2 separate regions of the Homo sapiens genome follow, and region 1 is linked to region 2. Evidence: promoter capture Hi-C in 16 types of primary human blood cells and fetal thymus (Javierre and others, 2016). All regions are on one chromosome and are shown on one strand. The core of a region is centred on a gene start or on the middle of the fragment in contact, and the rest is flanking DNA. Distances in the headings are between cores, read along the strand shown. Region 1 overlaps FOXJ3 (forkhead box J3). Region 2 holds the start of CCDC30 (coiled-coil domain containing 30).

What was found. Contacts are between HindIII fragments. The CHiCAGO score rates a contact against its expected background, and 5 or more counts as called.
Region 1: a contact is called between a fragment that was not itself captured here and the fragment with the promoter of CCDC30 in region 2, in 2 of 17 cell types (total CD8 T cells and naive CD4 T cells). The highest score is 5.9, in total CD8 T cells.

Annotation. Positions count from the first base shown.
Region 1 is chr1:42,329,182-42,334,231 of GRCh38, forward strand. All of the region lies in intron 1 of FOXJ3 (forkhead box J3), which reads right to left. Among named protein-coding and RNA genes, the nearest start is that of FOXJ3, 3.5 kb to the right of the region's middle. RefSeq lists an enhancer at 5,029-5,050. The HindIII fragment of the contact is 1,167 bases long and covers 2,640-3,806 here.
Region 2 is chr1:42,461,567-42,466,778 of GRCh38, forward strand. CCDC30 (coiled-coil domain containing 30) reads left to right here and starts at 1,720. Exons shown (of 21, transcript NM_001395517.1): 1 at 1,720-2,332. It also overlaps a transcript of PPCS not described here. RefSeq lists a silencer at 1,617-1,666. The HindIII fragment of the contact is 5,104 bases long and covers 1-3,118 here.

The DNA.
Region 1 (5,050 bases), core at 1,973-4,472, 130 kb before region 2:
TTGTTATAAATATAAAAACAACATCTGGTTCCATATAACAAAGCTATTTCCATATTCCAACAGATGGCCCACAGTAATAATGCTCTGCTGATCTGGTTATAACAAATTCTATTAAATCAAAAATCCTGTACAGCAGATGCCTTTTCCAATTTCAGAGTAAGTCAATCTCTTTAACCAAAACACTATGCTTTGGTTCTTATTTGTGCACTAAAATCATGTTATGCCAATTAAGATGGTCAAATTTTGTGACAGTTGTTATAAAACGCCACTGTGGTGTTTTCTGGGTTTTGGAGTGGAAGAGGTAAAGAATAACCCCCTCTAGGACTGAAAGGCTAACTGTTCAAAATGGAAAACAAAAATTCACAGTTAAAGGAAGGCTGAGGAGAGAGGTAAAAGTGAGCTTTAGCTGTCTCAAGCCAAGGTTTCTGAATAGTGGCAATGTGGAAAGCTAAGTGACTAACAAAGCCAACAGTGAAGATCAGTGAAAATAATGTAATTTCTGAGCTGAGAAGTTTTGAGCAGGGACAAACAAAAAAATGTCTAAACAATATGTATCTTTGTACACTGTAGTGTTAAGTCCACTTTTAAAAGAAATGCGGATGCGATGTCAAGTTAAAATTGCTGTTTAACTGTTTCCCCAACTACATTCAAAATCAAATCTTCATATTCTATCATGCCCTTACTTGAAATATTATCCTCTATTAATTCGTAACACAGTAAACAGAACAGTGTAGTGATTAAGAGCCACAGAGTTCTGAAAATAGACTACAAGGGTTCAAATCCTGGCTCTTTCCATTCCTAGCTATGTTCCCTTAGTCAAATCAACCTCTCTGTGCCCATTTCCTCATCTGTAAAACTACCGTATTTATAAAATTTACAACTACAATAAACTTATAAAATCTACGATATATTTATAAAACCTACTTATAAAATTTATAAAATATTAAGGGTTGTAAGATATGGATAATGAATGTAGAGTACTTAGAACACTTTTAGGCCCATAGTAAGGCTTCAAAAAATGTTAGCTATTATTATCATTACATTATCATCACATGAACTCCATGAAAGTTCTGAAAGAAAAGAAATATGAAATGATTTGTCTAAAACACAGAACAAACAAGTGGCAGAATCTAGGGAAAAAAATCTTCATTTTAAGTCCGGAAGAAAATCAGTGGGCTGACTGCAGTGGCTCACGCCTGTAATCCTAGCGCTTTGGGAGGCCAGGGTTGGCGGATCACTTGAGCCCGGGAGTTAGCGACCAGCCTGGGCAACATAGCGAAACCACTTCTCTACAAAAAATACAAAAATTAGCTGAGCATGGTGGCGCGCACCTGTAGTCCCAGCTACTTAGGGGGCTGAGGTGGGAGGATCACTGGGGCCCAGGAGGTTGAGGTTGCAATGAGCCATGATCGTGCCACTGCACTCCAGCCTGGGCAAGAGTGAGACCCTGTCTCAAAAACAAAACAAACAAACAAAAAAAAACAGTGATTCTTTGAGTCAGTACATTTTCCAGTCCCTCTAAGTCTCCAGGAAATTACATGAGAATTTTTAAGTTAAAACAGCAGCACAGAGTAGTGGAAATAGCACAAATATGAACTAAGAAGACCTACCTGCTCCACCAATTACTTAAGTGTACAACCCTAAGCAGGTCACCTAAACTTCAAATTGCTCATCTTTAAGATATTCTGCCTTTATCACAGGGTTGTTGAGATCAAATTAGAGAATGTATGAGAAAATGTATATAAACCAATAAAACACTATATGAATGTTCAAGGGCCATGTCTTATTCATCTTTATATCCCCAATGCTTAGCAAAATGCATGGCAGAGGTTATAATCTAAAAGAAGGCCATGTGAGGGGTTGGCAGGGTGAAGATTCAATGAAAATGGGGAGGAGTTTAAAAGAATTAAGAAACTTGACCAGGCGCGGTGGCTTACACCTGTAGTCTCAGCACTTTGGGAGGCCGAGGCAGGCAGACCACTTGAGGTCAGGAGTTCAAAGACCAGCCTGGCCAACATGGTGAAACCTCGTCTCCACTAAAAACGCAGAAATTAGCGGGGCATGGTGGTGCACGCCTGTAATCCCAGCTACTGTGGAGGGTGAGGTGGGAGAATCGCTTGAACCTGGGAGGCAGAGGTTGCAGCGAGCCGAGATGGCGCCACTGCACTCCAGCCTAGGCGACAGAGAGAAACTCTGTCTCAAATAATAATAATAATAATGAAAGAATAAGAAACTCAAATGTCCATCAACTAAAGCAATGGCTATCAACGTAGTATATACATACAGTGGAATATTATTTGGCAATAAAAAGGAATGAAATACTGATACATGCTACATGGATGGGCCTTGAAACATATGCAAGTGAAAGAAGTCAGACACAAAAGACCGTATGTTGTATGAAATGCCCACAACAGGCATTTGGAATTATCAACATCTCTACAAGATTGTAAGTACATTAGTGGCTGCCTGGAGGTGAGGGTACGGGGAGTGACTGCCAATGGGTACAAGGCTTTTTTTTGAAATGCTGTCCTAAAAATGACTGTGGTGATGGTTGCACAACTCTGTGAATACACTAAAAACCACTGACTTGTATACTTTAAATGTGTGAATGAAATGGTATGTGAATTATACTTCAAGAAAGCTTTTTTAAAAAAAAAAAAGAATAAAAGTTTAAGGAGAGAAGCGTTAAAGTATAAAATCACTGGCTTTGGAACATAAGTTTGTTTCTTTTTTTAAGGAAATACTAATAATTACCATATCAGATACTAATGTCTCTACAAATCCTGTGAAAAACAAATCTGGCATCTATTCTTACCCCTCCTTTCAATTTTCTCTCTAAGTTTACAAATTATCTCTTCTGCTTTAATTCAATTGTCTTTTCATTGTAGTCACTGTTTCTGAACTTCTACACCGCATTTGAAACTGTCAACACCCTGCCCTTGTAGAAAATCTTCCTATCCTGGAAATGATGCACTTTCTGGTTCTTCTCAGAATGCTATTAGCCTATTTCAAGACCCAAAATTCCAAACCTCAAAGCTCTTTCTTCATTATACTACTACCCTCCCAACACACATCTACTGATGTGTTTTACTAGCATCTATATCCCTGGTCAGTGCAAAATCTACCTTTCATCTAACCGTTCATTGTATATGGGAATAATTACATGCATAAGGTTAAGCAACTTGCCCAAAGTCCCTTCTGATTTTAATACCTTATTATGAAGATTTAATGAATTAAACAAACGTAGGCGCTTAGAATACCTGTCATACAGTAAGTAAATGTTAGCTATTATTTTATTCCTACAACCACTATCTTATATCAGACCCTCATCAGCTTATTCCTAAAATTCTCCATAAGCACTCTAATCAGTCTCTCCACTCCCAGGACACTCAGCTGAAACAAAAACCTTCCTCAGGAACAAGATGCATCATCTTACTCTCATTCTTTAGAACCCATTGTGGTACCCTATCAAACTAAACCCTCTATCCTTGAAAGATCCTCCATCAATACCCCCTCACCAATCCTAAACTCATTTATTATTATTCACCAACACAGATGATCTGACAGTCAAGCTCCTTGATATCATTTGTACATTGCCACTTCTCTCGCTTTGCACAGGCCCCTTCACTCTCCTGAAATACACCTCTTTCCCTTTGGAAATTTGTATCTTTCTCAAATGTCCCTTACACTTTTGACCTTGGTTGTACTGTTATCCCAAGGAGAAGTTTGATGCAGTTTGATAATTCTGAATGATGTACATGTTTCCCGAACAGAAAAAGAAACTCTGTTCTTTCGATATAAGTTGAAGCTTTCCAAGAGACCACGTATCTTATTCGTCTCTTCATACAGACTTCACACATAGATAACTCGGTACTTTACAGAAGTACACAAATGCTGACTTACCAAAAAAAAACAAAAAGCCTCAGTATGTATCAGAACAACATTCTCCATTTTCCACTGCCCCACCCATACTTAGCATAATGAAAAAATATAATCTAAAATCTATATTTAAATATTTTCATTCTACATAGAAGGAAAGGGAATATACGAACTGTACCAGATAAAAGGAAAAAAATGTCAAAAATATACTCAAAGAATGTACAATGTGAAAAAGTGAGAATGCAGGCCACTTTGGAATCTAGTAAGTGACTTTGAAACATTAAGTTTTTTTATTTTACCCAAACTAATGAACAAAAAAGAGCCAAAATAAACACGTTCTAGCCTCATCCAAAAAAAATCTAATGAAAGCATGAGAAACTTCCCAGTTTTGTCCTCGGCAGCACAAAACCAAGAAGATTCACCTCAATTCTGAGACACAAAAGCAAAAAGAGAAATCCTCCTATTTATCTAAGAAACTAAAAAACTTAATCACGTCTATATAATATATACCACTCAGAAAAAGAGAGGAGTTACTGCTTTTCTATAAATATTTGCTAGGGACCAGGAGGAATAGGCTTCTCTCACTGTTATTGCGGGAACAATCTGTGGTCTCAAAACAGCAAAACAGAAGATGGAAACCCTAATCTGGAAGAGACATTAAGAAAAAAACTACTCAAACCATGTTTCAAACCAGTTTCAAAAAAAGAGTGTGCAATGGGTACTCAACAGAGTAAGAGGAAAAGTGAAGTAAAAGAGCTTCTACAAAATAAGTGACTAGGTGAAACTAGTGCTGCCTTGTGAGAAAAAGAGCTATGCATATAACGCTCCTATGACATCACGCTTTTTCACTGGGAAACAAAATAGAAGGAAGAAAACACACACAAATAAATCTCAGAAAAAGACCAAAAAGGTGCCCACCAATCTCTAACTCCTTCAGGAATTAGAGTGAATGGCTCTAACTCATTCAGGAATCCAACCAGGGACAACACAGACGTGGAATGCACCAACACGGAATAGTAAAACCTTTGCTAACCAGACACACAAAAAGTAAAACAGAGAAATGAAAACTATACACCTGAATGCATCGGTAGCAAGCGCTTATTCTCTATAATTAAGCAACAGAGAAAAGAATAAGAGCAGCTAATGGAAGAGGAAAAAAGATGTTAATGAA
Region 2 (5,212 bases), core at 470-2,969:
AGCGGAGTCTTGCTCTGTCGTCCTGGGTGGAGTGCAGTGGCACAATCTCGGCTCACTGCAAGCTCTGCCTCCCGGGTTCACACCATTCTCCTTCCTCAGCCTCCCTAGTAGCTGGGACTACAGGCGCCCGCCACCACGCCCAGCTAATTTTTGCATTTTTAGTAGAGATGGGGTTTCACCTTGTTAGCCAGGATGTTCTCCATCTCCTGACCTCGTGATCTGCCCGCCCCGGCCTTCCAAAGTGCTGGCATTACAAGCGTGAGCCACCGCGCCCAGCCACCCAGGCTCCTTTGACAATGATTTTAAGTGAACTTCAGGTCCAATTTGCAAAACCCCAAAAGCAGTGGGCTCTGTCAGTGGCTGCAGTACTGAAGGGCAAGAAGTAGAATATGTTCTTCTCTGCATTCATAGCTTTATGTGGATGATGACTGTCATCTTTGAATGTACAATGGGGATATATGGGGTTAAAAGTAGAAGTGATCTTAATGTTTGTCTTTACCATAATTATTACCTCCCTTGGGAATTTTATATCCTGTCTTGTTAACGCTTAAAAACAATCAGTGTTCTACATGAAATTATTTAGTGTTTTCCACTTCAGTTTAATTTATATTCAGAGCACTTAGATTATTTACACAAGTAAAAATTCCAGGGGGGTGGGGGAGAGTGTGTGTGTGTGTTTTAATAGCAAATGGAAGTGTATAAAGAAAAGGAACATGAGTCAATGAGGGTAACTAAGAACCTGATCTTGGATGGAGGATCAAGGAATGTCTCCCTGAGTAGGTGATACTTAAACTGATAAACAGGAGTGAAGTGGGCTACAAGTGCTGGTGGTGAGCCTTTTAGTTCAGAAAAAAACACTTGCAAGAGGTCTAGTGCCAGAAGGAGAGGTTGAGGCACTTTATTATATAAAGAGTAAAATACGTCCGGATAATGCATGTAGAACCAGCAAAAATTTGTGAAGTATTCTCTTGGGGAACTAGAGTAAGACCAAGAAATGTTGTGTTTGGGATACCAGCAAAGCAAGGGCCCCCAAAACATGACTAAAATCGAGTTTGATAATTAACTAGAATTTTGCAATAAGAGCATCTAAAAAGATGATATAAATTGAGTATGTTAAATTTTGTGTCATTTATAAGTTTTTATTTTGCATTACATAGGTGGGGAAGATAACGTTCATCTTACCTGAATTTTCAGTGCTTAGGACTTCTAAAGGGCTTCAGCCTTAGGGACAATTCTAGTCAAGCCCAGTTTCTTCCTTTTTACAATAATAAGCTGGATCCAAAAATTGTGATTTATCTTACGTGCCCCACGTGGCTAGTGACACGATCTAGGCCTAAAATTCAGAGCTCTTGAGCTAGCACTTCCTGCCCCTTTAAGAATGAAGGAACTTGTAGAAAAATAAATCCAAGGTTAGTAGGCAGGGGCTCCAGCTGAGTCCTGGCGGGAAGTTCTTTGAGAGCTAGAACGCCCCAAGACAAAATGTATTCGCTAAGTCGCAAACGCTCGACATGTTACCATGGTTACAGCTGTCTCCAAAGCCAATGGAATGAGTTGTACTATCGATACGGCCGGGACAACTCCGCCCCCGACCCGAAGGCCAATGGTGTGAGACATAATAACAGTCTCCACAAGAACCACAGTCTCTGGTTCCACTGGCGTGCGTCGTCTCTATGGTTCCCGCCGGAAGGACGCGTCTGCGTCTCTGCGGCGAGCGCGGTTGCTATGACGCCCAGGTCTCCGTAGGCACCTGCAGCTAGCAGCTGAGCGCGTAGGGGCCGAGCGACCCCGGGACGCTCGCGGCACCCTCCGCAGGAAAATTTCCGACTTGGTTCTTGAGGTTCCTGCCTCAGCCCCAAGGAGGAAAGCACCCATTCTCCCCTCTTTTCCGCATTACGGGCCTTTTCTGCTTCTCCCCAGTATGGTCCGAAACTACAGGAGGGGAACCCCTCCTGGCCCGGCCTTTCTATTCCCTGGCTGGAGTGATTCCGCCTGAAGGAGAATTCGCCCGTTTTCCCCGGACCCAGCTGCCACAAGCATTTAGTATTAGGCTGCCGCTTATTATTAGAGCGGGCTTAGAACATCCTCAGCGAGGTAGGTCGGCGTTCCTTTTCTCACTTAAAGGTGAGGTGTCGAGACGCGCCCCTGGACAGACAACGCCCGAAGGTCCAGGCCACTACGAAGTCCACGGAGGGGCAGCTTTCCCCTACGTGTAGGCCCGCGAACAAAGAACTACCGTTTTCTGATTTTTTTTGGCCGATGTTCGTCATGCAGAACCTTGAATCCCGATGAAGATTTGGAGGCCTTTTGTATCCTCAACATCAGAGGTCATGAAGTCAGTTACCTTCTGCCTTTCAAGCTACAACTTTTTCCACTTCTCTCATCACTCCAAGCACCAGCTTTCTCATCCTGCTTATTTCACAGCCATTTTAACTTTTCCCTGTTCACGCTGCACATTATTGAATGTCCATTTGTCTGCACCACCTCTGTCATCTATAGACCACCTCCTTCTGCTTTCCTGCTACAATGCTTTGCGTACCTAAGTATTTCGCATTCTCCAGCTCTGCAGTCATTGGGAAGATTTTCTGTTTTTCTTTGCACTATGGCAACCTTTCAGTCTTGGGTAAACTAGAGACTAGGAGAAGTGCAAATTGGTAAATATAAACATTAAATACTGTAGGTCTAGTGTGTTTTGAAAATGGAAAAAAAAATCAAAATTGCAGTATTGGACCCATTTCAGGCTTACATAATGAAAGAAGGTTGTTCCTTGTTTCATTAAATTTTATTGATGTGTTTATCAATGTGAAAAGGGCATTCAAAGTGATCATGTAAGACAGGATTTCAACTTTAAGCCCATATGAACCCAACACTGGGGATATGATGTAATTTTCTGGAGAGGAGATGATTGAAATAGTACTTGTGCCTTCTTTTCCTGTCAATTTCTGAATCAGAAAACATTCTTTGTGATGTAAGCCAATAAATGAAAACAATAAGGAGTGATTGAAAATAAATATTTTTGGCAAGGGAGCAGACACAATTGTTCTAAAAAGGCTGGAACAGAGGGCCTTAAATATGGCATAAGATTAATTTAGATCCAGTGCAATTTTATTTTAGCTTGGAAAGCTTGACTTAATTTGTCTTACAATACGCATTCCTTGTTGAATCTTACTATTTCTTCTTCAGTATTCAGGTTTAAAAGTAAACCTATTTTGAGGACATACAGAACATACACATTTTAAACAGCTATTTGGGGCTACAATGATTTGGATATTTTGATTTCTCAGTCCAATAGAAGCAGTCGTTTGTGATGTCTCATGCTTAGAGCCAGGTCAAGTTTTTAAATACTGAGAAATTCAGCTTTCTCCTCTAGAATAGATCGGAAAACAAAAACAAGTTCTGCAGCCTTTTCAATCTTGCACATTAAATTGGAACTGGATAAAACCTAACTCTTGAAAAAAGTGTTAGATGCTATATTGTAAGGGGCTTTCCTTTCCTTTCCTCTTCTAATATGTATTTATTGAATAGCAAGGCATAAATTTAAAAACAATTTAACCTGGGCAAACATGGCAAAAACCTGACTCTACAAAAAATGCAAAAAATTAGCCAGGCATGGTGGAGCACTCCTGTAGCCTGGCTACTCTGGAGGCTGAGGTGGGAGGATCACTTGATCCTGGGAGATCGAGGCTGCAGTGAGCTATGATCGCACCACTGCGCTCCAACCTGGGCTACAGAGTGAGACCCTGTCTCAAAAAAAATAAATTCCTGTCATTCTAGGACAGTTTTTTTTGTTTTTGTTTTTGTTTTGTTTTGTTTTGTTTGAGACGGAATTTCACTCTTGTTGCCCAGGCTGTATTGCAATGGCGCGATCTTGGCCCACTGCAACCTCCGCCTCCCGGGTTCAAGTGATTCTCCTGCTTCAGCCTCCTGAGTAGCTGGGATTATAGGCATGTGCCACCACACCCTGCTAATTTTGTATTTTTAGTAGAGACGGGGTTTCTCCACGTTGGTCAGGCTGAGTCTTGAACTCCTGACCCCAGGTGATCCGCCCACCTCAGCCTCCCAAAGTGCTGGGATTACAAGTGTGAGCCACGGTACCCGACCTCTAGCACAGTTTTAAACCTGGGGAGTGGGGTGGGGTTTTGCCCCCTGTGAGACATTTGGCAATGTACGTAAGCATTTTTAGTTGTCACAACTAGGGATATGCTACTGACATATAGTTGGTAGAGATCAGGGATGCTGCTCCATATCTTAATATGCACAGAACTGCCTCCACAACAGCTCAGAATGTCAGTAGTGCCAGGGTTGAGAAACTCTGTCTTAACACATCAACAGTTCATTTTTTTGTTCTGTCACTCTTGCTTAGCTGTGTACATTTTTACATAGTTATGTACATTTTGCCTTTCTTTTTCACTTTATATTTTAAACATTTTTTACATTGCTACAGTGTTTTCAACTTTTGAAAAAAGTATACTAATTTTATTTGGGAATTGAAAAACTGTGCATAATATGTATTTTATTTAAGATGTGTGTGAGTTTTAAATTATATTTGTGTGAAAGGAGTGGAAAATAGAAGAAAGAAAGGTTACAGTGAAAAGTCACCTGACAGCATATTTCAGTTTTTGTGGCTGTGCTATGTACTTTGTTCCCTAGAGTCACTCAAAGACTTTGGAATCCAAAGCTCAGCCTTTGCTCAGAGGCAGGAGATGTGCTATGGCGTAAGATAGGGTCCTGGCCCCTGCAATGCAGTTGGAGAGTACCTACCAGGAGAAAAAACAAGGAGACTGCACCCATTCTCCTTGTCCTCTTCTCGTTTAAAATTCTTTGTCTCAGTTTGCTTTACCACCTTATTCTTTACATCTAGAAGTTTTTGGAGGCCTAAACCTACTTCAGGATGCACTTCTTTCCAGAGATTGGATTTTTAAGAGATTTAATGAGCATTTACTTAGTATCTACTTTGGACAGAATAGTTTTTTTGTTGTTGTTGTTTTGTTTTGTTTTTTTTTTTTGAGATGGAGCCTTGCTCTGTCGCCCAGGCTGGAGTGCAGTGTTGAGATCTCGGCTCACTGCAGCCTCTGCCTCCCGGGTTCCAGCGATTCTCCTGCCTCAGCCTCCTGGGTAGCTGGGATTACAGGCACCCGCCACCATGCCCGGCTAATTTTTGTATTTTTAGTAGAGATGAGGTTTCCCCATGTTGGCCAGGCCAGTCTTGAACTCC